Regions from separate parts of the Homo sapiens genome. Here all the other regions are linked to region 1. The links are contacts of gene promoters, found by promoter capture Hi-C in blood cells and fetal thymus (Javierre and others, 2016). All regions are on one chromosome and are shown on one strand. Each heading gives the region's core, a stretch centred on a gene start or on the middle of the fragment in contact. The rest is flanking DNA. Distances are from core to core; before and after follow the strand shown.

Evidence for each region. The method cuts DNA at HindIII sites, captures the fragments that hold promoters and counts their contacts. A CHiCAGO score of 5 or more calls a contact.
Region 2: a fragment that was not itself captured here is called in contact with the fragment with the promoter of KRT5 in region 1 in 1 of 17 cell types (non-activated CD4 T cells); the score reaches 6.0 in non-activated CD4 T cells.
Region 3: a fragment that was not itself captured here is called in contact with the fragment with the promoter of KRT5 in region 1 in 1 of 17 cell types (non-activated CD4 T cells); the score reaches 5.6 in non-activated CD4 T cells.
Region 4: a contact is called between a fragment that was not itself captured here and the fragment with the promoter of KRT5 in region 1, in 2 of 17 cell types (M1 macrophages and naive CD8 T cells). The highest score is 5.4, in M1 macrophages.
Region 5: a fragment that was not itself captured here is called in contact with the fragment with the promoter of KRT5 in region 1 in 1 of 17 cell types (erythroblasts); the score reaches 5.1 in erythroblasts.
Region 6: a fragment that was not itself captured here is called in contact with the fragment with the promoter of KRT5 in region 1 in 1 of 17 cell types (fetal thymus); the score reaches 5.5 in fetal thymus.

Annotation. Positions count from the first base shown.
Region 1 is chr12:52,519,144-52,523,295 of GRCh38, reverse strand. KRT5 (keratin 5) reads left to right here and starts at 2,902. Exons shown (of 9, transcript NM_000424.4): 1 at 2,902-3,554; 2 at 4,136-4,152. The coding sequence starts at 3,000. RefSeq lists enhancers at 30-995, 3,815-4,152. The HindIII fragment of the contact is 4,587 bases long and covers 1-4,040 here.
Region 2 is chr12:52,979,292-52,983,959 of GRCh38, reverse strand. No RefSeq gene overlaps it. Among named protein-coding and RNA genes, the nearest start is that of EIF4B, 25 kb to the left of the region's middle. The HindIII fragment of the contact is 692 bases long and covers 913-1,604 here.
Region 3 is chr12:52,891,265-52,895,941 of GRCh38, reverse strand. No RefSeq gene overlaps it. Among named protein-coding and RNA genes, the nearest start is that of MIR9898, 5.4 kb to the left of the region's middle. RefSeq lists silencers at 543-837, 1,752-1,930. The HindIII fragment of the contact is 2,110 bases long and covers 834-2,943 here.
Region 4 is chr12:52,913,443-52,917,557 of GRCh38, reverse strand. It overlaps a transcript of KRT8 not described here. Among named protein-coding and RNA genes, the nearest start is that of KRT8, 10 kb to the right of the region's middle. The HindIII fragment of the contact is 8,808 bases long and covers 1-4,115 here.
Region 5 is chr12:52,943,791-52,948,366 of GRCh38, reverse strand. It overlaps a transcript of KRT8 not described here. Among named protein-coding and RNA genes, the nearest start is that of KRT18, 3.0 kb to the left of the region's middle. RefSeq lists silencers at 308-602, 988-1,282 and enhancers at 2,233-2,828, 4,018-4,576. The HindIII fragment of the contact is 1,627 bases long and covers 1,788-3,414 here.
Region 6 is chr12:52,818,422-52,823,025 of GRCh38, reverse strand. It overlaps KRT79 (keratin 79), which reads left to right. Exons shown (of 9, transcript NM_175834.3): 7 at 1-10; 8 at 647-681; 9 at 949-1,618. The coding sequence ends at 1,154. Among named protein-coding and RNA genes, the nearest start is that of KRT4, 6.6 kb to the right of the region's middle. RefSeq lists an enhancer at 4,306-4,604. The HindIII fragment of the contact is 2,485 bases long and covers 278-2,762 here.

The sequences.
Region 1 (4,152 bases), core at 1,653-4,152:
CTTAGAGGATATGTACAAATGCTGTTTTATGGAACATGTTCTATTTATCATGCTCTATTAAATGTATCTTCTACTAAAGCCCTACAGATTGGAGTGGAGGCTCTGAGGAGAAGGAATCCTGGGCTGGGATGGCAGGATTTGCCTAACCCTTGTTCCACGAATGGATACCACCCTCTCCCTGGTGTCTGTGAAGGGCTTCTCCATGTATGAAATGCTGACCAGGTCCTACATTCCCTGCACAGCTCTGCGAGAGAGGTCAGGGCAGCCAGCTTACTGTCCTTTCTCTGATGGGGAGAGCAGCAGGGCGGGCCCTGCACTGTCTTCTGCTGACAAGGAAAGCAGCACCCAGAGGAGAAGCTGAGCAACATGTCCCACCAAGCCTGGGAACTGCCTCTGTGGGGTGCCCAGCAGGAAAGCTCCCTGGTGAGCCTAACACAATCCCTCCCTTCCTGCCACAGTGAAATTCCAGGCTGGGGTGGGACTCTCCCGAGCTGCAGTGGTGCTGGTGCCTGGCTCCCCACCAGGAGCGGCTCCATTATTTATACCTGTCCAGGTCTGGCATTGAGGGAGGGGCTGCCCTGCCTGCTCATGGGAGGATTCCCACGAAGCTCGGATAGAAGAGTGCTGCTGCTTCTCCCATGGAGCACCCACATGCTCCCTGCTCCCATGGAGCACCACACACTCACCGTTGGTCCCTGGCACATGGATCTGAGCTTGGCACACTCTAGCAATCCTCAGACTAGCCAGAACGCATTCCTGCTCTGCCAAGTCCTCTTTCTTCACAACACAGCTGGGAGGAGAATGAATGGGGAGAAGAGAATGTCCCAGTGTCTCAGGAGGGGTGGGGCTTCCCTGAGGGCAGTGAGGTCTGTACCCGGGACCTGTGAGTGTATGTGGTGGTGGGGATATACCCCGATATCGATCTTTGAGTGGAGCAGGAGCATCCCACTACGAGTCCTCAGACACTTGCTTCAGGCTTGGATCTGTTCTGTTCTATCAGGAGCCGAGGGTCCCCTGGTATGTCTCAGGCCTCCAGGACACTCACATCTGTTCTCCAGAAAGCAACCAAATGTGAAAATGGTGAGCTCAGCACAATTCATCTCTGAGGGTCTCAGAAATGCTCCAGCCAGGGAGGCCACCCAAACCATTTTGCTCAAGACCTGTAAGACCGGCTCCGGCCATTGGTCTGTCTGCCGAGATTGACCTGTCAGCTGCTTGCTCATCGCAGCCCTCTGGTGAGAAGTCACTGTTTCAGCTGATCCTCAGCACCAGGGAGTCATTTTCCCACTGCCTTGGCTTCCTTGTGGCCAACCGCAGGCCCTGGTGAGAGATTCCTGAGCCTGGGTCTGGTCCTGTTCTTCTACTCTTGAGAATATAGCCCCTCCTCCCTGAGGCTTTGAAGCCATCCCCATTGCATTCCTACCTCCAGCCTCGGGCCACAGGGCGCCCCCGAAACTCTGAACAGCCCAAGCACTGTCCTGCCTGAGAGCCCTGCTTCTATTTGGGGGACGGCAGAGAGGTGGCCCCACTCAGATCTGCTGCCAAAAAGAGTGGGTGTGGTTTAGAACAGACGTGTGTTAAAACCTCATCAGAAACCCCCTTTCCTCCACCTGGTGCCACAACCCCCCAGACAAGTTTTGCAGAGGGGATCTCAAAGGGCCCTCCCTAAAGCAGCTGGCAGATTGTCATGCCAGCTGCCTGGGCCCACAGGCCTGCTCTGGCTAGCCTTTCTGGCAGGACAATCCATAGACTTAGAATCCCGTTTTCCATTGCCTTGGCCCTGAAGGAGGCTGTGGGCTACAGCATAGAGAAAGCAGAGCAAGTCCCGCTGCTTGGAACAGGGTGGTTCGCCGTTATAACAGGCCGTCAGACTCTCAACATGTTCCTGATGAGATTAGAAGCTCCTGCAGGTATGTGTTTGTGGCGGCCTTCAGCCTGTATCAACACATACGATGACTCATTTCTTCCCTAGTGGAATAGAGCTTGCTGGAACACACCTGGGGGGCTGGGGAACCGGCAGAGTAGCTACCCCCAAAGAGAGACGCTATAGCCCATGAGTCTCAGGGTTTTTTTTTAAGGGATTGCATGGGATCCCCGGGTTTCCTAAACCCCCCACAGAGTCCTGCCCAGGCCAAAGAGCAAGGAAAAGGTCAAAGGGCAGAAAAAATGCTGAGTTAGGAGGAGCTATGGAAGGATAAACCTGGCCTTAAAGAGGTCAAAGTGGTTTATAGGGGGCGCTGAGGGCTTCCCACATTCTCTGGCCTAAACCTTGCAGGCAGATCTGCCCAGTGGGCTCTGGGATAGCTGTGCCTTCCCTAAGAAAAAAATTGTGCAGAAAAGGATGAAACTCTATTTTCCCTCTAGCACATAACCAAGAATATAAGGCTACAGATTGCCTTTCCCAGAGGGGAAAACCCTGCAGCAACCTGCTGCCTGGAAAAGTGTAAGAGCAGATCACTGGGGAATCGTTTGCCCCCCGCTGATGGACAGCTTCCCCAAGCTGGAAGGGCAGGTGCTCAGCATGTACCGTACTGGGATGGTTGTCAATACTCCTGGTCCTGTAAGAGTCCCCAGGACACTGGCCATGCCAATGCCCCCTCAGTTCCTGGCATCCTTTTTGGGCTGCTCACAGCCCCCAGCCTCTATGGTGAAGACATACTTGCTAGCAGCGTCACCAACTTGCTGCCAAGAGATCAGTGCTGCAAGGCAAGGTTATTTCTAACTGAGCAGAGCCTGCCAGGAAGAAAGCGTTTGCACCCCACACCACTGTGCAGGTGTGACCGGTGAGCTCACAGCTGCCCCCCAGGCATGCCCAGCCCACTTAATCATTCACAGCTCGACAGCTCTCTCGCCCAGCCCAGTTCTGGAAGGGATAAAAAGGGGGCATCACCGTTCCTGGGTAACAGAGCCACCTTCTGCGTCCTGCTGAGCTCTGTTCTCTCCAGCACCTCCCAACCCACTAGTGCCTGGTTCTCTTGCTCCACCAGGAACAAGCCACCATGTCTCGCCAGTCAAGTGTGTCCTTCCGGAGCGGGGGCAGTCGTAGCTTCAGCACCGCCTCTGCCATCACCCCGTCTGTCTCCCGCACCAGCTTCACCTCCGTGTCCCGGTCCGGGGGTGGCGGTGGTGGTGGCTTCGGCAGGGTCAGCCTTGCGGGTGCTTGTGGAGTGGGTGGCTATGGCAGCCGGAGCCTCTACAACCTGGGGGGCTCCAAGAGGATATCCATCAGCACTAGTGGTGGCAGCTTCAGGAACCGGTTTGGTGCTGGTGCTGGAGGCGGCTATGGCTTTGGAGGTGGTGCCGGTAGTGGATTTGGTTTCGGCGGTGGAGCTGGTGGTGGCTTTGGGCTCGGTGGCGGAGCTGGCTTTGGAGGTGGCTTCGGTGGCCCTGGCTTTCCTGTCTGCCCTCCTGGAGGTATCCAAGAGGTCACTGTCAACCAGAGTCTCCTGACTCCCCTCAACCTGCAAATCGACCCCAGCATCCAGAGGGTGAGGACCGAGGAGCGCGAGCAGATCAAGACCCTCAACAATAAGTTTGCCTCCTTCATCGACAAGGTGAGCTACGATCTTTTGTAAAAAATCACTGTGGGTCTGAAATAAATGCCAAAGAGAGAGAAAGAAGGAAGATGTTTTGGCTTTGTGCAAATACTTTTATAGTTGTACAGTTCTGTGTTTCCGTTTGTTTCTGTGCCCTGGATTTGTGGACACGTTCTGAATTAGACTGGCAGCTGGGAAGGGAGAATTATTTCTTCCCATTCAGAGGTTAGCTCACAAGGGCCTCTTAACAACTGTTGGACAGAGAGATGAATTTCATGCCATATATAAAGGGGCTGACTGTACAGGAAGGTAGACAAGTGCATGGGCAGCAGCCTGAGTGCCTTTGCAGCCACCCCTGAGCCGGGACACACTCCAAGCAGCACTCCTAGTGCTTTCTGTGCCCTGGATAGGTGTCCTATCTCCCCCTGGAAAAGTGAGTTTGGGTGCCTCAGTCTGCACCTCCCCTCCTGGGGCCCAGGGCCAGGCACAGTGCACAGAAAAGCTTTAGAGGGACGGAAAGAGGTGGGAGGCACCTTAGTGAGTTGATCATAGAACATGAAATCCAAGTTTCTCTATCTTCAAACCCTGCTCCCCTCCAGGTGCGGTTCCTGGAGCA
Region 2 (4,668 bases), core at 9-2,508, 460 kb before region 1:
GCAGATATTATTAATTCACTGATAATACTAATTAAAATACAAAAACTGCTGGTGCGATGGCTCATGCCTGTATTCCCAGCACTTTGGGGGGCCAAGGCGGGCAGAATACCTGAGGTTGGGAGTTCAAGACCAGCCTGCTCAACATGGTGAAACCCCGTCTCTACTAAAAATACAAAATTAGCCAGGCGTGGTGGCACATGCCTGTAATCCCAGCTACTCCAGAGGCTGAGGCAGGAGAATCTCCTGAACCCTGGAGGTGGAGGTTGTGGTGACCCAAGATTGTGCCATTGCACTCCAGCCGGGGCAACAAGAGTGAAACTCTGTCTCAAAAAAAAAAAAACCAAAAAAACAAAAACAAACAAACAAACAAAAAAAACTAGCCAGGCATGGTGGCATGTACCTGTAATCCCAGCTACTCAGGAGGCTGAGGCAGGAGAATCACTTGAACTGGGGAGGCAGAGGTTACAGTGAGCCAAGATTTTGCCACTGCACTCCAGCCTGGGTGACAGAGGGAGACTCTGCCTCAAAAAATAAAATAAAATAAAATAGATAAAATATAAAATAAAATAAAATTCGTTACGGACTAAACATCCGTTCTTGCCTGACTCAGGGTGGAATCCTCCTACCCTCCTACCTTTGTTATGCTACTGCCTTCCTTACAAACCCCTGTTAAAGATCAAGTGGAATAATATTTTTAAGGGTCTCAAATTCAAATACTGTCAGGGTTCAGATAGGCAAGTGTGCGAAGTGGTGTAGGTCACTGGGAGTGGTGCAGACTATGGAAGATTGAGGAGTGCATGCCCTGGCTAGAGGTGTTCACATGCAATTTTTATCCAGGGAGTGAACTGACAGTTTGTGATACTCAACAACAAATAAATAATTCAAACTTGGATCTGGTCTGACTTCAAAGCTTTTTCTACTATGTCATTTGGTCTTGTCCGAAACCCTAGTTCCCTTTTTCTTTTTTTTGAGACAGAGTCTCACTCTGTTGCCCAGGCCGGAGTGCAGTGGTGCGATCTCAACTCACTGCAACCTCCGCCTCCTGGGTTCAAGCGATTCTCCTGCCTCGTCTCCTGAGTAGCTGGGACTATAGGCGTGCGCCACTATGCCTGGCAAATTTTTGTATTTTTAGTAGAGATGGGGTTTCACTGTGTTGGCCAGGCTGGTCTCGAACTCCTGACTTTGTGATCCGCCCACCTTGGCCTCCCAAAGTACTGGGATTACAGGCCTGAGCCACTGTACCCAGCCTCTCTTTTTTTTTTTTCCTTGAGATGGAGTCTCACTCTATCACCCAGGCTGGAGTGCAATGGTGCAATCTGGGCTCACTGCAATCTCTACCTCCCGGGTTCAAGCAATTCTCCTGCCTCAACCTCCTGAGAAGCTGGGATTACAGGCACCTGCCACCACGCCTGGCTAATTTTTGTATTTTTTTAGTAGAGATAGGGTTTCGCCATGTTGGCCAGGCTGGTCTCCAATTCCTGACCTCAGGTTATCCGCCCTCCTCAGCCTCCCAAAGTGCTGGGATTACAGGCGTGAGCCACCACGCCTGGCAGTTTCCTTTTTCATAACATGGGACCACTTATACTTACCTATCTTGGAAAGCTTAGGGATCATTTATTTCAAATCCTTAGCACAGTACCTGCCACACAGTAAGCACTTGAAGAGTGGTAGTTCTGTATAAAAGAGTTCATAGGCTGGGCCTGGTGGCTCACGCCTGTAATCCCAGCACTTTGGGAGGCTGAGGCAGGTGGATCACGAGGTCAGGAGATCAAGACCATCCTGGCTAACATGGTGAAACCCTGTCTGTACTAAAAATACAAAAAATTAGCCGGGCGTGGTGGCACGTGCCTGTGGTCCCAGCTACTCAGGAGGCTGAGGCAGGAGAATCACTTGAAACCTGGAGGCAGAGGTTGCAGTGAACCAAGATCATGCCACTGCACTCCAGCCTGGGTGACAGAGTGGGACTCTGTCTCAAAAAAATAAAAATAAAAAATAAAATAAAATAGTTCATAAACTGCAAAGCATTATATAAATATTAGGTATTATTATAAAGACATAGGTCGGGCGGGGGTGCAGGGGCTCACACCTGTAATCCCAGCACTTTGGGAGGCCGAGGCGGGCGGATCACGAGGTCAGGAGATTGAGACCATCCTGGCTAACACGGTGAAACCCTATCTCTGTCTAAAAATACAAAAAATTAGCTGGGCGTGGTGGCGGGTGCCTGTAGTCCCAGCTACTCGGGAGGCTGAGGCAGGAGAATGGCGTGAACCTGGAAGGCAGAGCTTGCAGTGGGCCGAGATCGTGCCACTGCACTCCAACCTGGGCTACAGAGCAAGATTCCGTCTCAAAAAAAAAAATAAAAAAAAAAATAAAGACATAGGTCGGGCATAGTGGCCCACACCTGTAATCCCAGCACTTTGGGAGGCTGAGGCGGGTGGATCACAAGGTCAGGAGTTTGAGACCAGTCTCAAAAAAAAAAAAAAAAGACATAAACACCAGATCAAAGACTGTGTAAATAGGACTGAGCCAATCTGGAGAAGCATTGTGCAGGAGGCAGCATGAAGGAGGATGAGAGGTGTGTCAGGGCAAGGGCAAATAGGGAAGGACCAGGAAACCCAGGGGGACACATGCCTGACATTCACAGGGCCAGTTCCTCGACTCCTGCACCATGATCACTGCCATTCTGTCTGTGCCGCTAGCATGGCCCTCCAGAATGAACTGCAAGCTTGCTTGAGGCTCTGGAGAGCTCTTACGTCCACTGACGTTGTTTAAGCTCCAAGAGGCTCTGATTCCATGAACTCTGCCAATGAGAAGGTTGAAAAGAAATTGGAAGTCAATGTGGATGGAGCAGCCGCCTATTAGCAAATTTGGCCAAATGGTGGTGCTATAAGCCAGAAAATCAAAGCCATTCTAGTAGCCAGGATGACTGGAACAATGGTCTCTGCACCTAGAAGGCCACCAGGGGGCAGAGGGAGGCAAGACTGCTTTTCTCAGGGACAGCTGGAGTCACCAAGTCAAAAAGGCCATCAGTGCCGGACGTGGTGGCTCACATGTGTAATCTCAGCACTTTGGGAGGCCGAGGCTTGAGGTCAAGAGTTCAAGACCAGCCTGGCCAACTTGGTGAAAGCCTGCCTCTACTAAAAATACAAGAAATTAGTCGGGCATGGTGGTGCGTACCTCGGGAGGCTGAGGCAGGAGAATAGCTTCAATCCAGGAGGTGGAGGTTGCGGTGAGCTGAGATCATGCCATTGCACTCCAGCTTGGGTGACAGATCGAGACTCCATCTCAAAAAAAAAAAAAATGCCATCAGAGTCATTTAATAAAACAAATGGCTATATTGATGCAGTGCCAGAAATAAAACAGAATAACTCAAACAGGTGCAGATCTTGCTATGAAATGCTTAAAGGGATAGGAGTCATTACAAAATGCTTAAAGGGATAGTTCAAGGGAGCTCTGCAGCCTCATCCCTTAACCTGCCCCCCTCACCATACAACTTGTTGCTATAAGTGTCACCCTGTCGCCATGGCTTTTCCTCCCTTCCTCTGTTCCCATACCTTCCCCATACTCATCAAGCTCCTTCTGTATACCAGAGCATTTAGCCAGAGCCTCGGAAGGTGAGGGAGAGATCGCTGATGAGGAGGTGGGAGGGAGCTAAGGGAGGAGTGTGTGTGTGGAGTGAATGGTGTGGCTGGAGGCTGGTCAGCAGGGGAGACTGCAAAAAGAGGAGCTGGAACACAGAGTCAGGGCACTGGCCATGGAGTCTGGATGCTTCCTGGGTCACGGAAGGGTTTTAAGTAGGTGAGGGATATTATGAGATCTAGTTTTATCTATTTATTATTTATTTATATATTTTTTAGAGGTGGTCTTGCTCTGTTGCCCAGGCTGGTCTCAAACTTCTGGGCTCAAGAGATTCTCCCACCTCAGTCTCCCAAGTAGCTGGGACCACTGGGCCTGGCACACATTTATTTTTATTTTTATTTATTTATTTTTTTGAGATGGAGTCTTGCTCTGTCACCCAGGCTGGAGAGTAGTGGCACCATCTTGGTTCACTGCACCCTCTGCCTCTTGGGTTCAAGTGATTCTCCTGCCTCAGCCTCCTGAGTAGCTGGGACTATGGGCACCTGCCACCATGCCCGGCTAATTTTTTTTTTTTTTTTGGTAGAGATGGGGTTTTGCCACATTGGCCAGGCTGGTTTTGAACTCCTGACCTCAGGTGATCCGCCCACTTTGGCTGGGATTACAGGTGTGAGCCACCAAGCCCGGCTGAGATTTATTTTTAAAGAAGACCATGTTGGCTGGTGTGTGGAGGAAGGCTGAGTGGTTACTGGTGGCCATGAGAAGACTTTCTGTTAGGAAGATGTTGCAGTGATAGTACAGAGGACAGATGCCTACAGCCTGGATGTGGGGTGTGGATGGGGAGAAAGGAATAGATTTGGACTTACTGTGGAAGTAGGGTTATTAATTTATTAGATCCATAGGGTAGACCAAGAGAGAAGGAGGTGTCAAATATGATTCCCAGGTTTCTGGCACAAGCAATTAGATGGATGGTGTGTCATTTACTAAGATGAACAAGAATTATGAAGCTGGTGGGAGCTAAGATCAATAATCCAGTTTTGAACAGGTTAAATTTGAGATGCCTAAGAGTCATCTAAAAAGAGGCATTAAGTA
Region 3 (4,677 bases), core at 639-3,138, 370 kb before region 1:
GAGCCCAGGAACCCCCCACTGCCAACCCCTCCCACTCAGCCCCAGGGCCAGGCCCAGGGATTTGCACACTGTCACCTTAGAGGATCTCACTCTTTGGTAGTACTCATTAACAGCACCATTATCCAGAGCAGGGGATCTATTTTGGCAGTGGTCCACAGTAAGAAATTCATTTTATCACCACCTGCAAATATGTATATATACATATATATAACTGAAACAAAAATTTCATGAAACAATACCAACCTTCTGCCTTCTGCTCACATGTAGCCTGGCCCTCAGCAAGAATCAGGTGGGTGGTGTAAGAGCCCAGCGCAGTCACAGCACCCAGTGAGAAGGATCTCTTACCATGGGTGCCCTAAGTCAATATTTTCAATTGTGCCCCTCCCAATCCTCCCTGAAGCCAGTCACCTGTCTTATCTGGCCCTGTTCCCAGAAGCAGGCATGCTGGGGGCAGCCGGGGGCCCCACCAGATAGTCTCCTGGGAGTTTCCACGCCCTGGGTGTTTGCTCAGGGAAAGGCAGGATGGCTCCAGGGAGAATTCCCTTTCCCTCCCTCCCTGCTTGCTCCTTCCAGGTTCTGGTGCATCTACCATGGGATCAAGGTCACCCAGCATTAAGGGGACACCATCCCTCCCATTTATCTTTCAGAAACTACACAGACAGAAGAGCTGGAAATCCAATGGTCATTTAGATGAGGAAACTTAGGAAGGACAGGAGCTGACATTTCTTAAATATCCATTTCACCTGCTTGTGTGTCATCTCATTTCAAGTCTCCAACGATCCTGTGAGGCAGGACTTAAAACCCCATTCATGGAGGTAGAATCAGTCTAAGCTTATGTAAGTGGTGTCCTGACTCTTGACAATACTAGATTTTTTTTTCTTTTTTCTTTTTCTTTCTTTCTTTCTTTCTTTCTTTCTTTCTTTCTTTCTTTCTTTCTTTCTTTCTTTCTTTCTTTCTTTCTTTCCTTTCTTTTTTTCTTTTCTTTTCTTTTCTTTTTTTTTTTTTGAGACAGAGTCTTGCTCTGTCACCCAGGCTGGAGTGCAGTGGTGCAGTCTCGGCTCACTGCAACCTCTGCCTCCCGGGTTCAAGCGATTCTCCTGCCTCAGCCTCCTGAGGAGCTGGGACTACAGGCACCCGTCACCACGCCCGGCTAATTTTTTGTATTTTTAGTAGAGACGGGGTTTCACTGTGTTAGCCCGGATGGTCTCCATCTCCTGACCTCCCAAAGTGCTGGAATTACAGGCGTGAGCCACTAAGCCTAGCTTTTTTTTTTTTTTTGAGTGATGGAGTTTCTCTCTTCTTACCCAGGCTGTAGTGCAGTAGCGCGATCTCGGCTCACTGCAACCTCCACCTCCCAGGTTCAAGAGTTTCTCCTCCCTCAGACTCCGAAGTAGCTGGGATTACAGGTGCCCACCACCACGTCCAGCTAATTTTTTGTATTTTTAGTAGAGACAGGGTTTCGCCATGTTGGGTAGGCTGGTCTCGAACTCCTGACCTCAGATGATCCGCCCACCTCGGCCTCCCAAAATGTTGGGATTACAGGCGTGAACCACTGTGCCCAGCCTTTTTTTAGAGACAGAGTCTCATTCTGTCACCCAGGATGGAGTGCAGTGACACAATCTCGGCTCACTACAACTTTTGCCTCTTGGGTTCAAATGATTCTCCTGCCTCAGCCTCCCAAGTAGCTGGGATTACAGGTGCCCACCACCACGCCCAGCTAATTTTTGTATTTTTAGTAGGGACGAGTTTTCACCATGTTGGCCAGGCTGGTCTTGAACTCCTGGCCTCAAGGAATCCGCCCATGTCGACCTCCCAAAGTGCTGGGATTACAGGCATGAGCCACTGTGCCTGGCCAGTAATACTAGATTTTTAACGCATATAAATGAAAACATTTTTTTTTTTTTGAGACAGAGTTTTGCTCTGTCATTCAGGTTGGAGTGCAATGGCTTGATCTCAGCTCACTGCAACCTCCACCTCCCGGGTTCAAGAGATTCTCCTGCCTCAGCCTTCCAAGTAGCTGGGATTACAGGCGTGCACCCCCATACCTGGCTAATTTTTGTATTTTTAGTAGAGACAGGGTTTTGCCATGTTGGCCAGGCTGGTCTTGAACTCCCGACCTCAAGTGATCCATCTGCCTCAGCCTCTCAAAGTGCTGGGATTACAGGTGTGAGCCACTGCACCCAGCCAACAATTTTTTTTGAATAGGTAACAAATACATTTTATATATAATTCTTTTTTTTTTTTTTTTTTGAGACGGAGTCTTCGCTCTGTCACCCAGGCTGGAGTGCAGTGACATGATCTCGGCTCACTGCCAGCTCCAGCTCCACCTCCTGGGTTCACGCCATTCTCCTGCCTCAGCCTCCCGAGTAGCTGGGACTACAGGCATCTGCCACCACACTTGGCTAATTTTTTTTATTTTTTAGTAGAGACGGGGTTTCACCATGTTAGCCAGGAGGCCTCGGCCTCCCAAAGTGCTGGGATTACAGGTGTGAGCCACCACATCCGGCCTTTATACATAATTCAAAAGTACAAGAGGACCCTTCCCCAGTCAGCCAGTTTCTGTTCCAGAGGGCAATTAATGCTACCAGTTTCCTGTGATTCATTCCAAGTAGAAGTTATTATATATAGTTACATAGGGACATACATGCATACATTTCTATCTATCCTTCATGAAGGGTATTGTACTATATGTGTTGTCACATGCCTTGCTTTAACATTCACCCAATACCTGTTCCTTCCATATCAGTATACAAGTTGCTTCTCCACTCTTTTTCACAGCTGCATAATATTCCACTTTGGGATGTGCCACAATTTACTTAACCAGTCCTCTATTGGTATTTGCTATGACAATGGTGAGGATATCTTAATAATTCCTACAAGTGGAATTGCTGAAGCAAAATGTGTGCACATTTAAATTTTAGTAGACTTTTTGTTTTTAAAGCTTGATTTCCTATGGGACTGAATTTTAGTTTTTTAGAAAATTTACATGTGTAGAAGAAGGTTCCTGTTTGACTATTCCAGATGAGCCAGCCATTATCCCCCACTTCCCTCCACCCTGCCTTTCCCGACCCAACCACCCAGGATTAAAATGATGAGTCTTCCAAGCATTTGTGGACTCTTCTGAAGATATTTTAATTCCAAGGTTTTGCTCTGCCTGCCCGCTGATCTGGGCTAAGGTGGTCTAGGAGCTCCCCTGTAGTAGGGGGATCTGAAGGTGGGCTAAGGACCGAGGGCCAGGCTGACTGGAGTGTAAGGTGGTGGGAATGGAGGAGTGAATGTTAAAGCAAGGCATGTGACAATGCGGACAGTACATACCCTTCATGAAGGATAGATAGAAATGTGTGCATGCATGTCCCTACGTAATTATATATCATAGATTCTACCTGTTGGGAAAGGAAGAGGAAGCACCACTGCAAGGAAAGGAAGGCAGGGAAGGATACCAGCATGGTGGGTGGCCCCCTAGTTCACTCTCCGCGCTGCCCTTTTACACATTGTGGTGGGCATAGTTGCTTTGTCTAGCCAGGACCCCTTCCCCCTTCTTCTAGTAATGCAAAGCTCCCCCACCTCCACTCCTGCCACGCCCCACTTCTTTTCAGGAACTGTTCCTCCTAAGATCACAGGACCTCTGTCCAGGCACACAGGGTTCACAATGGGCCAGCCTTGGCCAATCACAAGTCCCTTTGTTTCCTCCTTGCTGAGGCATATTGTACATACAATAAAATGCAAAATGTGCTTTAATGGGGAATGTACAACCTGATGAGTTTTTTTATTTTTATTTTTATTTATTTTTTTTGAGATGGAGTTTCACTCTTGTTGCCCAGGCTGAAGTGCAATGGCACGATCTCGGCTCACTGCAACCTCCGCTGCCCAGGTTCAAGCGATTCTCCCGCCTCAGCCTCCTGAGTAGCTGGGACTACAGGCATGCGCCACCACGCCGGGCTAATTTTGTATTTTTAGTAGAGACGGGGTTTCTCCGTGTTGGTCAGGCAACTCCCGACCTCAGGTGATCCACCCGCCTCAGCCTCCCAAAGTGCTGGGATTACAGGCGTGAGCCACCGTGCCCGGCGCCTGATGAGTTTTAACTTATGTTCACACCTGTAATGTAGAACATTTCCTATATCACAGAAGGTTCACTTGGGCCCCTTGCCAGAGTGCACTTTTTTTTAGTAGACTTATTTTTTAAGAACAGTTTTAGCTAGGCGCTGTGGCTCATGCCTGTAATCCCAGCACTTTGGGAGGCTGAGGCGGGTGGATCACGAGGTCAGGAGATCGAGACCATCCTGGCTAACATGGTGAAACCCCGTCTCTACTAAAAAATACAAAAAAATTATCTGGGTGTGGTGGCAGGCGCCTGTAGTCCCAGCTACTCGAGAGGCTGAGGCAGGAGAATGGTGTGAACCCAGGAGGCAGAGCTTGCAGTGAACTGAGATCATGCCACTGCACTCCAGCCTGGGCGACAGAGAAAGACTCCGTCTCAAAAAAAAAAAAAAAAAAAAAAAAGAAAAAAAGAGCAATTTTAGGTTCATAGCAAAATCGAGCAGGAGGTAGAGGGTTCTCATACACATTCTGCCCCTACACCTGCATCCCACACCAGAGGGCTACATTTGTTACAACATCATCAACATCCCACCTCAGAGGGATACATTTGTTACGATTGATGAACCTACATTGACACAT
Region 4 (4,115 bases), core at 1,616-4,115, 390 kb before region 1:
TTTTATATTTTTAGTAGAGACAGGGTTTCACCATATTGGCCAGGGTGGTCTTGAACTCCTGACCTCAGATGATCCGCCCCCCTCGGCCTCCCAGAGTGCTGGGATTACAGGTGTGAGCCACCACACTCAGTCTTTTCTTTTTTTTCTTTTTTTTTTTTGAGATGGAGTTTCACTCTTGTCCAGGTTGGAGTGCGATGGTGTGATCTTGGCTCACTGCAACCTCCACCTCCTGGGTTCAAGCAATTCTCCTGCCTCAGCCTCCCAAGTAGCTGGGATTACAGGTGTGCACCACCACCACACCCGGCTAATTTTGTATATATATATTTTTTTACCAGAGACTGGATTTCACCATGTTGGTCAGGCTGGTCTTGAAAGCCTGACCTCAAGTGATCCACCCACCTCAGCCTCCCAAAGTGCTGGGATTACAGGCATGAGCCAGTGTGCCCGGCCGCAGACTCTCTTTTCACAAAGCTCCAACTTTTGGGAAGTCCTTGATTACAGGGAGCAGAAGTCTCTCTCTGGGGGAATCCTTCCTATTGGTGCTGGTTATATCCCTTGGGTCACACCGATGAATGTCCCCTATTCCTCCAGGCAGTCCTGAGGTTCTATACACATTGGGAACCTCTTCTCCAGGGCTGGCACTCCCAGCTCCTGCGCTATGTCTCACTGGAATATGGTGCCCATTCTCCTCTCTATCCCAGGCACCTCCTTGCATCAGTCAGTCCTAAGAGTCAGACAAAAGCCATACCCTGCTCCAGCATGGTCAGCATGCGAGAAGGCGGGCTTGTCCACACTTGCTTCTGCTGCTGAGGACTGTGGTGGGTTTTGAGACAGCCTCATCGTGCTGTTACCAGAGTGAAGGGGTGTGTGTGGGATGAACCAAGCTAAGGAGGCAAGTATAAACTGCATGTTCAGGGGAGGGTCTATACATTTACTCTGGAGCATCTACTCTGGGCCAGTACCCTGCTGGGCAGATGCTGGCACTGAGACAGGAACCAGACACAGACGCTGGAGGAACCTGCTCTGTCTCCAAGGAGCTGTGTCTAAAACTGATTGGATGACACGATGGTAAGCCCAGTGGCTCATGGCAAGTGCATGGAACAGTCTAGCTGGAACAGAAGGTGCTAGGGTTCAGCAGGGAGCTGCTAGAAGTGCAGCTGAGTGACCTTGGACTCACGCCCATGCAGTCAACTGCCACCTCCTGTTGGTTCTAGCTTGAGTCCATCCCTATCTTCCTGCTCCTACCACACTGCAGGCCTCCAGACCTGCTTTCTGCAGTAGCCCCCTTTCTAGTCTCCTGCCCCTAGTTTTTGCCCCTACCATCTATCCTGAACACCCCAGCCAGCTTAATTTTCCTAAAGCACTGCTTTAAGCTCATCATCCTGCTCCTCCCTTCCTGCAGCCTGCAGAAAAAGCTCTGTCTGGCCTCTGAAACCCCTAGTCCCACCCTCCTCCCCAATATCTAGCTTTTCTACTCTTCCATAGGAATCCCGCTCCTGTCCAGTGGCTTATCACATTTCCAGATCTTTCCATCCATATCTTACTTTCCTAAGCTCAGCTTGATCTAAGGGCTCTCTCCTTCCCCTGAAGTCCTATAGCATACATCTGAATCATTTATTTATCTGAAATCAATATTCCGTTGATAAGGTACAGAAGGTAGACTTTGGCCAGGTAGTATTTGTATTTATAGAAGGGCTCGGTGTGTACACGGATATCTTTATACCTGGCTTCTCTGGTTCCACGTCTTTATTGGTGTACATTTTGGTTAGCATATGTAGTGAACATCTGTTGTTTCTGCCTGTCCAGCATTTGTTTATCTTTTCTTTTCTCTTCTTTTTTTTTTGAGACGGAGTCTTGCTCTGTTACCCAGGCTGGGCTGGAGTTCAGTGGTGGGATCTTGGCTCACTGCAGCCTCTGCCTCCTGGGTTCAAGCGATTCTCCTGTCTCAGCCTCCCAAGTAGCTGGGACTACAGGCATGCACCACCATGCTCGGCTGATTTTTTTGTATTTTTAGTACAGATGGGGTTTCACCATGTTGACCAGGCTGGTCTCGACCTCCTGACCTCAGGTGATCCACCCGCCTCAGCCTCCTGAAGTGCTAGGATTACAGGCGTGAGGCATGGTTCCTGGCCCTGTCCAGCATTTCTTCCTGGTCTTTTGGTGAATCACATTTTTTTTTTTTTTGAGATGGAGTCTTGCTCTGTTGCCCAAGCTGGAGTGCAGTGGCGAGATCTCGGCTCACTGCAGGCTCCGTCCCCTGGGGTTCACGCCATTCTCCTGCCTCAGCCTCCTGAGTAGCTGGGACTACAGGTGCCCGCCACCTCGCCCGGCTAATTTTTTGTATCTTTAGTAGAGACGGGGTTTCACTGTGTTAGCCAGGATGGTCTCGATCTCCTGACCTCATGATCCGCCCACCTCTGCCTCCCAAAGAGCTGGGATTACAGGCGTGAGCCACCGCGCCTGGCCCAAATCACATTTTTTTTCCCCTTTCTCTATAGGTTGGGTGGGGCTGATCACCCCTCCACAGGGTCTTGTTATGTGGTCTAGTCTAGTCAACATGATAGTATTCTATTCCCCTGGCCACAGGGATTGGTTCAGAGATGAGCATGTGACCTATATCAGCCTTGGAGAGTCAGCCCTGGAACTTCAGCAGGAAGCATCGGGAAAGAGGTGCTCCCTTAGTGGTCGCCCTTCCTGCAGCAGGGAGATGGCCTGCCCGAGGACGAAGCTAACATGGAGGAAAATAGCCAAAAGACAGGAAGAGAGTCTTGGTCCTGATGATATCACTGAGCCCCTTATCTGGCTAGGCTGAAAGCCAAATGCACCCTTGAACTTCTCAATTATAAGAAATGATCTTTTTATGCTTAAGTCTGTTTGAGTTGGGTTTCAGCCACTTGCAATCAAGAATGTGTATCCTTTGGCTGGGAGCTGGGGCTCACACCTGTAACTTTGGGAGTCACAGCACTTTGGGAGGCCAAGGTGGGAGGATTGCTTGAGGCAAGGATTTTTTGTTTGTTTTTGAGACGGAGTTTCACTGTTGTTGCCCAGGCTGGAGTGCAATGGTATGATCACAGCTCGCTGCAACCTCCACCTCCTGGCTTCGAGCAATTCTCCTGCCTCAGCCTCCTGAGTAGCTGGGGTTACAGGCATGCGCCACCATACTATGCTAATTTTTTGGTATTTTTAGTAAGGACAGTTTCTCCATGTTGGTCAGGCTGGTCTCGAACTCCCAACCTCAGGTGATCCGCCTGCCTCGGCCTCCCAAAGTGCTGGGATTACAGGCGTGAGCCACTGCACCCGGTGGATTTTTTTTTTGTTTTGTTTGTTTTATTTTTGAGACAGAGTCTCGCTCTGTCGCCCAGGCTGGAGTGCAATAGGGCAGTCTTGGCTCACTGCAATCTTTGCCTCCTGGGTTCAAGCGATTCTCCTGCCTCAGCCTCCCGAGTAGCTGGGATTACAGGTGCCTGCCACCATGCCCAGCTAATTTTTATATTATTAGTAGAGACGGGATTTCACCATGTTGGTCAGGCTGGTCTTGATCTCCTGACTTCAGGTAATCAGCTGGCCTTGGCCTCCTAAAGTGCTAGTATTAGAGAGGCATGAGCCACCTCTCTCAGCCTGAGGCCAGGATTTTGAGACCAGCCTGGGCAATATAGTGAAACCTCTGTCTGTATAAAAGAAAAAACAAACAAACCTGTAACCGTGTATTTGAGTTTGGATGTGTGTTATATATGGCTGTGTGTGCACAGGTATGTGTGTGACGTTCGTAGGAAGGTGGTGTGCACGGGACTCTGACGGGTGGTACACGCACATGCTTGTGCCTGAGATGAGGATGTGAGGTGGTACTGCACCTTGGCGTGTGCGTCAGGCCATGCAAGTGAGAGGGCAGGTGGGGTGTGTGTGAACCTGAGAGAGTGTGTGAGGGACAAGAGGGCGTGTGTGCTATAGGCTGAGGTTGTGTGCCCACAGGGTGGGGGGTGGGCCTGTGAGGCTGTTTGTTCTGGGAGATAACCCATCAAACATGTGTGCTTTGTATTTATATGGATACATGCATATAAAGACACGTGCTCAAAAACACCTGCTTATCATCATGCACCTCTGCCCTCCTGAAAATT
Region 5 (4,576 bases), core at 1,352-3,851, 430 kb before region 1:
GAGTCCCGGGGAAGAAAGGCTGGGAGCTGGAGAAGAGGAGGAGAAGCAATGCCCAGCCTCATAGCTGCTTGCTTACACACTCACACCCCAGCTGCACCTGGCTCCCAAACACTCCTCGCCTGCCCACGTTTCCTCACACACACTCACACCCGAATCATACAGAGGTGTGCTCTCAAATGCACACACACATACATTCACTCAGCAAATAGGTGCAGACTCCCCAAAACAAACCCAGTCTCTGAGCCCCCTCCACCACCCTCCCCTCTCCCGACCTCACTCCCAAGGGCCTTGCCTCAGTGGAACACTGTGATTTGGACAGGGAATGCATCCTGACTTCTGCACACCGGTATATCACCTTTCCTGCATCCTTAATTAAACAAATCCTGAGCATTTACAATTCAACCAGTATGCATTCAGCACCTACTGTGAGCCAGGCCCAGTTCTAGGAGCTGGGAGAGAAGGGCGGTGACAAAAGAGACCAAAAATCTCTCACAGAGATGATAATGTGTCCCACATCGCCGGGCACAGTGGCTCATGCCTGTAATCCAAGCACTTTGGGAGGCCGAGGCGGGTGGATCACTTGAGGTCAAGAGTTCGATGCCACTGCACTCCAGCCTAGACAACAGAGCAAGACTCTGTCTCAAAAAAAAAAAAAAAAAAAAAAAATTTGAGACCAGCCTGACCAACATGGTGACACCCCTTCTCTACTAAAAATACAAAAATTAACCAGGCACAGTGTGTGCCTGTAATCCCAGCTACTCAGGAGGCTGAGGCAGGAGAATCGCTTGAACCCAGGAGGCAGAGGTTGCAGTGAGCCAAGATCGTGCCGTCGCGCTCCAGCCTGGGCAACCAGAGCGAAACTCTGACTCAAAATAAATAAATAAATAAATAAATAAAAGTAATGTGTCCTACATCGCATGGGGCCTGAGAGGACAGGCAGGCACTCCTAGGACCATCATAGCAGCGACCCAGCCCTGGTGGCCAGTGCCCCTCCCCTCTTTTCTAGGACTTTTCTCCAAGCCAGTCCTTCCCCTGTCCCCCCTTGTAAGGGCTGTCTGGATTAGAAGCCTGGCCCCAGGGGACTGCATCCTCCAAGATGCTCTCCCCAGCCTCTGTGTGAGAAGGATGGAGGTAGGGAGGCTTTCATGCTGCCTGCCCCCTGAAGCTGAATGACCATCCCTGCTGAATGAAGTGTTGGGGGGAACCCTTAGGTGTTTGGCCTTCAAGTTTGTCAGCTCCAGCAGCTCGTTTTTCTGGCAGGGCCTGGTATGACACATTTGGCTGTGTTCTTTGCTCTGGAGTGGACCTATTGATTCTTATCGAGCTACCAGCTGAGGGGGAAGGGGAGGACAAATAGTAGGGCAGACCTGGGAGAGAAGGGACCCTGGAAAAGCCTGGCCAGTGGACCTGCCAGGTGGGAGGCAGAGCACAGATAAAGAGCCTGAGCCTGGATTGTTCCTGATCTGTCACCTAATGGTGGGGAGAGCCCCACAGTGCTCAATGGGAGCCAGCCAGGGGGCAGTCAGGGTGGAAGCTGGCCAGGGGAGGGTCGGGGCCTGCTGAAGGCTGGGAGGCAAACGGGATGCAAAATAACATACAAATGAATGCCCACTGGTTTTGCATACAAGGCTTCTGGGAGGTAAGAGGTTCCAGTCAGAGGGGTCTCTCCTGCTTTCACCTTTATATTCCCCCACTGGATTCCAGAACTGTCAAGTTGGGCAGTATTTTATAATAAAGTATGTGGAGTCAACAAGCTACGTACTGCCTTTTACTGTTATTGCTAAGCTTTAAGTCAGCCAGCCTGGATACTTTGCTAGCTGTGTAACCTTGGGGAAGTCACCTAACTCTGAACTTCAATTTCTTCACTTGTACAGGGAAAACAGTAAGACCTGTCCAGTCTATTTCCTCAGGTGGCAGTGAATGTGAGTGTAAATTGTCACTCACTCATTCATCAAACAAATACTAATTATTTGTACTGGAGCCTTCCTTCAAAGTAAGGAAGGCTTCAATATATACAGGAGGGCAGATAAAGGGGGTCAATTTAATTCGAAAGACGGGCTCAAGGGGTTTGAAGTCTGTCTCTCTGAGTCATTTAAAAACCCTGGGGCACTTTGAAATCTACCAGCAATCAAAACAGATTCTAGAATTTTTCTCCAAGCTAATTCCCAGGTCCTTGTCTGATTCCTGCCCCACCCCAACTGCTAGGAAACTTCTGGGACCTGTGGAGGTGCAGCGTGGGGGCTGGAGAGGGAGAGCTGCCAGCTAGACTTTATCTCTCCTACTGATGTCGATGGCCACATTCCTGACTTCTTGCAGCATGGGGCAAATACCGACCTCGGGCTTCCAGCACCAGCCTGCCCCTTTCCACCACTTCCAGATTCCTCTGTGGCTCAGGGCTTTTTCACTTTGTCAGAGAGCCTCTTGGAGAGCTGGGGTGAAGGTCTCGGCCTCCAGATTCCCAGCACTAGGGTTCTGGGGTGGGGGTGGGAAGCAAGGTGGAAAGGGGGATGGCGTGATTGTGAGGACAGTCCCGGGAAAGGGTGGAGCAGGAGGGGCCCTGGTGAGAAGCTCCCAGAACAGACACAAAGAGTAATGAGCCTCGGCAGGGGGGAATCCGGAAAGAGGGGAAATGGTTCTCCACCCACCATCAGTCCTGCATTCCAGCGTCCAGCAGAAGGGGAGTGGGAACCTGTGAGGCAGGTTTAACTTCAGAGTAGACTCAGAGATGACCCGATAGGGGTGGGTCAGCTCTTACTGCCCACTCCACATTCTCCCACAAAGGGCTTGAGCTGATGGCTCTGGGGAAACTAGGTGGTGGAGAGATGAGAGGATTAGGGAGGATTGGAAGGCCTGCAGTCCTTCCGCCTTTGCTTTAACATTTAGGCTGGAAATTCCTTGCTCAGCCTGGAGGAGGGAGGTGTTCGGAACAGCAACTGAGGTGTAAGGATGGGGTCTATACACAAAACAGGGAGAGACTGATTCCCATCCTCTTCTTTAAAGACTGAGGGTGACTCCAGTGTGTTGGAGACAGTGAGAAGGCCCTGTGGTGGGGTGGGCTGGAGGGAGGAAGGGATCGCCTGGGAGGCTCCCCTGGGCTCCTTTCAGCTACTCTCAGTGGAGGGTATACCCATGCAGGGGGCCCTCCCACAGGAGAAATCCCAGGGCTGCTGAGTTAAGGGTAGAGCTGTTGAGACAGAGGGAGATCTGGGGTAGAACCCAAAGGAAAAGGAATCTGGGGTGGAATGGGAATCCTCCTGCCCAGCCCTGCATCTGGCACATAGGTGGAGCTCCGTAAATACTTTAGGTTTAAGTAATTAATAAACATGGGGTGCTAGGAGAGGTCAGTGGGGGTCATCAGAAAGTGCAGTCAGGTAGACTGCAGAGAGACAAGAGGTGGGGGCAAGGGTACAAGCTTCAGAGGCAGCTGCGGAGCAGGGGGAGGATGCGGGTGGCAGCTGGGTGCAGGACCCAGTCTGATATCAAGACTTCTGGAATTTCAGCACCCTATTTGGAGTCCCTGGCACTGCCTGTGGAGGTGGGAACGGGTTCTCAGGGCTTGGGCCAGGCCCTCTTCCCCAGGGGTGGGAGAGTCGAGGAATGCCCTGACACTTAGTATCATTGCTTCGGTTGGGTTTGTGCCCTAGGGGTTATTTTCCAAGGATAAAGGAAGAGGAAGGGTCAGCGCTGAGAAGCGTGTGGCTGCCCAGAAACCTCCAGGCGCTGAAGCTCAGAGAAGTCGGGGAACCTGGCCCTTCTAGGAGCCCCTCAGCTCCCTGGCCCAGCCCCACCAGGAATGGCCTTGCCTGTGCTTATGTCCTTTGCCCATTCTGACCCTGGTGCTGTTGGCTTCTCCTCAGGTGCAACCCCAGTATCCCAATGCCATATCCCCCAGCCTATCGCCTCACTCAAATCTGCCCAGAGATTAGGGGAGGGCAAAGGGATGAATAGGGCACTTGGTGTCAAAAGACCTGGATTCGGCCAGGTGGCTCATGCCTGTAATCCCAGCACTTTGAGAGGTTGAGGTGGGAGAATCGCTTATGGCCAGGAATTTGAGACCAGCCTGGGCAGTATAACAAGACCCTGTCTCTATGAAATAATAAAATATTTCAATATTTCACAATATTCCCCACTGCTGGCTTAGTGATCTTGAGCAGCCTTTACTAGCTTGGTCTCTCCTCAGCTGTAGAATGAGAAAAATAGTAATATCCACTTAGAGAGTTTTCATGAGGACCAAATGAGATGACGTGCCTGGAAGAGCTTTGGCAGCTGAGAAGCCAGCTGACCTCCCCTCCTGTCTGCTTTGCCCCATTTGCTCCTTTTCTTCCCAGCCCCCTTGTTCTTTTGCACTTACTACTCTCCAGCCTTCTGCTCCCTGCTCACCACTATTTTTTTCCATCTAACATGGGCTCAGGGCAGGGTGGCTAAGACTGAGTCTTTGAAAAGGGGGGTGAAATGGAAGAACAGAGTGGCCAAGAACCTATCTCCAGATCATCCAGTCAGCCGGCTCTGTCTCTGTCAGCCTCTTTCCTGGCCTAGGCTGGGCAGGTTCTGCCAGCAGTGTTTAGGGAACTATCCT
Region 6 (4,604 bases), core at 271-2,770, 300 kb before region 1:
AGGAGAGCAGGTGGTGGCCCCTCCTGCCCGACCCAGAAAGCTGGGTCGGGCCTGCCCTGGGGGAGAGCCCAGGGAGTCTGCTCCGGGGTCAAGAGAGGGAGAGAGGAACCAGGGAGCAAGATCCTGACTCACGCGGGGGGAAAATCTGCTTGTGCCCACTGCCTCCATCACTCCTCTCCTTGGTTGGCACAACTCTTGTTAATCTTTACTGTGGCTGACAGCCCGGTAGGAATGGAACTTCCTCTTCCACCAGCAGATTTCACCAGCAGTGGAAGCTTTGGAAAAAAAAATCCACCATCTCTGTCCTTAGGAAAAGCATGAAATAGAAAGTGGGCAGAAACTAGGCAGCTCTGTCTGGTCGTGGGCTTGTTTCCATTGGGGCAGGGATGCTGTCCGTAGCCCACATGGGCAGAGAGGAAAGAAAAGGGGAGGATGGGAGTTGGCACAGCCTACTGGTGGCTCTGCCCTTTCTGCAGCACTGGCTTTTGGACCTGGGCACAGCCCTATACACATACTTCTCATGTTTCCTGGTCTTGTCATCAGGATTCACTGAGTGGATCCAATGTAAAGGCAGAGGGAAGGAGAGGGTTTTCATGTGGGCACCAGGGATAACTGACTGCTCTCCTGGCCTTTCTGTGTCCCCTAGGATGTCTGGAGAATGTCCCAGTGCAGTCAGCATTTGTGAGTATTTACTCCCCACTTCCTGCTCCACCCCTGGCCAGGCCCCAGAACTCTGCTCAGTTTATGCAACCTGTACCTGTCCTAAAGCATGCTCTCCTCCATTCGAGCCCCTGGAGACAGGTTCAGAGGGTCCTAGTTCTGGGCTTCTCTATCCATTTCCCATAGCTCTGCTGCTTGATTTTGTTCTGATTCCCCACTGATTTCTGGGTCTCCCCCAGCCCTCTCTGGCATGGCCGCCCTGACTAATCCAGACCCTTTGCTTTGCAGCTGTGACTGGCAACTCCACCACTGTGTGCGGAGGTGGCGCAGCCAGCTTTGGAGGTGGCATCTCCCTGGGTGGGAGTGGGGGGGCCACCAAGGGTGGATTCAGCACAAATGTGGGCTATAGCACCGTCAAGGGAGGGCCAGTCTCTGCGGGCACCTCCATCCTGCGGAAGACCACTACGGTCAAGACGTCCAGCCAGAGGTATTAGCTGCTGAGCCCTGCAAGGGCCCCTGCAATCCTGTCCCTGCCCTCCTCACCCCACCTCTGCTGTCCTTTCCAGTCACTTCTCAGGAGCAGGAACAGCCAGGGGACCTCAGACCCAGGGTATTTTCATACCAGACTATTTGCATCTTGGGAAGCGCTCAAATCTACTCAGGTTTTCTCCTTGGTCCTGCAGTAGGATGGGAGGGAAGGTTAAAGTTGCCAGCTTGAGTGATGTGCTTGGGTGACTTGGGGGTGACCTTTTGACCACCGAGAGGAGGCTGAATTTCTCAAGCCATTAGGAGAGAGAGAAATTGGGAGTGGTCCCCAAAGACCCTTCAACCTCCCCAGTCCCCCACCAGACCCACCCTCTCCCTGAATCTACCCACATCCCCCTTCCCTGTCTGTGTCTCAATAAATGGTGCAACTGCAGCTAGCTGTCTGTGGCTGCAGTCTGTCCTGCCTGGGGAACTGAAATTGTGTCCATTGATTAACATCCTGATGCCTGACACAGCAATAATCACACACTCACCACATCCCAATCGCCATGCTTACTTAGGTACATTAGTTTGATACCATCGCCACTCCAGGGCTGTACATGGCTCACAAGAGGAGACCAAGGCTCAGAGGGAATATGTAAGCTGCTCAAGGCCAGACCTGGCTAAGTGGCTGCCTATTAACCAGCCACCCCTGGTGCCTGTTCAGCCTCCCACTAACTCTGTAGGGGCAGACAGCATGCTTTGTTCAGTGGAGAGGTCTTAGGCTTCAGAACTAGGCAACTTGGGTTTAAATCCAAGTTCTGCCACTTACTAGCTGTATGACCTCGGTCAAGTTACCTAACCTCTCTGAGCCTTAGTTTCCTCCTTTGTAAAAGTGGGTTGTGATAAGAACATGTGTAAAGCATCTGGCTTATAGAGGCCCTTTCAGGAATCAGGTTTCTTTGCTTTCCCACTCCCTGACTTCTGGATTCCCAGCTTATCCTCTTGGCCTCAGTGATGTCTCTCTCAGCCCCCACATCCAGTCGGCAAGAAAAATCCACACTTAATTGGGTTTTGTGGTTTACACATACATTACTTTGCCTGTGACCATCACCACAGCCCTAGGTTCAGTAGTGGGCATGTGGTGTTCCAGTTTACAGGTGAGGCGATTCACGCTCACAGAAGTGACCTCTCATGCTGTAGTCATCCAGCTGGCTGGAGGTGGGTCAGTAGTGTCCAGGGCTGCAATTTCAAGCCCTCTGTCCTGTCACCCCAGAAGCTACCTCCGTCCTACTCCTGCCTCCATCACTCGCCAAATCTTACTGCTCCTCCCTCCATGCGTCTCTTGGTATCACCTTCTTTCCTCTTCATCTCCACAGTTCTCTACTTTGAGTCTGGACCCCACTCCTCAAGCTGTACCCAAGTGATTCCCCAATTGGCTGGCCTCTCAACCCTGCACCTCTCAGGCCCTCCCCACCCTGCTACCAAACCAGTTGGCCCGACCCGAGGCTGTCACCACTCCGCTCCCTTCCTTGGCAACCTTAGGGCTCCTGGCAGTTGCTGGGATGCATCCCACACTCTTCCGGCCTGATCACTCTGTCCTCCTCAGAGGAGCCCCGAAGAGCCCTGAGAAAGCTTCCTCCAGGGCTGTGGAAGGCCAGCAGAGGGATTTTCAGCCAAACCCTAACCTCCAGCTTAGGAACACAAAGGCCTAGCGGTTTAGGGTCAGCTCTGCCTCACCAGCTTGGGTGGTCTCTAGCTTCCCTTCTCAGACAGATGGAGTATAGTCCACCCCATGTACAACACTTTGAGGAATACTTGCTAATGCTCACTGAGTGCCAACTGTGTGCCAGAACTGCTGTCAAGCCTTTAACTGATTCTCTTCACAACAGCCTATAATATAAATACTATTATCATTCTAATTTTGCCTATAAGGAAAATAAGGCACAGAGTGGTTAAGTAACTTGCCTAAGGTCACACAGCTAGGAAGTAGCAGAGCTAGGTGTGGAATCCAAGCAATCTGGTTCCATAGCCCAAGCTCTTAAGCACCAGGTTATTTTGCTTATATAGAAAAAGGAATGGAGACCTGGGGATGCTGGAGCTAGAAGGGGCATTGGATGTAATCGACTCCAAACTTTTTATTTCATAGATAAGAAAACAGGTTGAGGAAGGGGAAGAATGTATCCAAAGCCACGGTAACTTAGTGGCAGTGTTAAAAAAAAAATCAGTTTTAGTGAGATCATAGGCCAGGTGTTGTGGCTCCTGCCTGTAATTCCAGCACTTTGGGAGGCTGAGGCAGGTGGATCACTTGAGCCCAGGAGTTCAAGACAAGCCTGGCAACATGGTGAGACTCTGCCTCTACAAAAAAATACAAAAATTAGCTGGGTTTGATAATGCATACCTGTAGTCCCAGCTACTTGGGAGGCTGAGGTGGGAGGATCACTTGAGGCTGTTGAGGCTGCGGTGAGCTGTGATTGCACCATTGCACTCCAGCCTGGGTGACAGAGGGAGACCCTGTCTCAAAAAAATTATATTTAGGGCTCAAAAACTGAACAATAGAAACTTTTGATTGTCATGGAAAAAAGCCTCAGAGATTATACTGCAGCCCAGGGGGGCCCACCAACAATAATGCGCTGCTTAGACATACTTGTCGAAGGAGGGGAATGGCCCAGACCCAGGGGTTTCCAAACTGAGGACCCTAAGGGCTGCTTTCAGGGGTGCAGGGGGAGGTCAGCAGGTGAGAAGGATCATGGTCCCTCCTCTGCACCAACTGGATCATCTCTCCTTATCTGTTTTACTCATGAGGCTGTGCACGTGATTTTGTTTATGAGGGTGCTTTTGCTGCCAGAACATGCTGGGAAGCCCCTGCCTGTATATGCCTGGGGTAGGAGGCCAGCAGGGGCAGCTCTCCGGCCCGGGGAAAGAGGAGCCCCTGGGTACAGACCCCCATACCTGGCTCTCAGGAGTGCCCGTCCTCTCATTGCCCTCACTGGCCTCTCCCTAAAACGCTGATGGCCCTTTTCTGCAGAATCTCTGATCCCCGTGTTGTCTCTGGTTCCCCAAGAATGACTCAGGCCCGGTGGGGCAGTTGAGGTTGGGTGACCGAATGGAGTGAGGGTGCCCGCCTGGCCAGGGAGGGCAGGAGCACTTTCCCACACCACACAGTGGGTTTGGAGATGAGAGTGACAGAAGCCCTCAGGATCCCTTAATCCCAGGGCTGAATGTAAGGGCTTGCCTCCCTTACCCAGAAAGCCCTGAGCAAACACTCCCTCCGCCTGGCTCCACACCCCTGTCGGCTGCTCATCCCTCTGTGAAAAGATTGGGAACAGCTGCCAAACAAGGAAGGGTCACCGAGGGCAGTAGCAGAATCTGCGTGTGGAGGTCTGGGGAGGGGCAGGGGACAAGCTTCCAGCTGTGGCTGCTGGGTAGTGGCGCCTTGTTCAGCCACCTGCCTCTGGCCCACATATGAAGGCAATGTC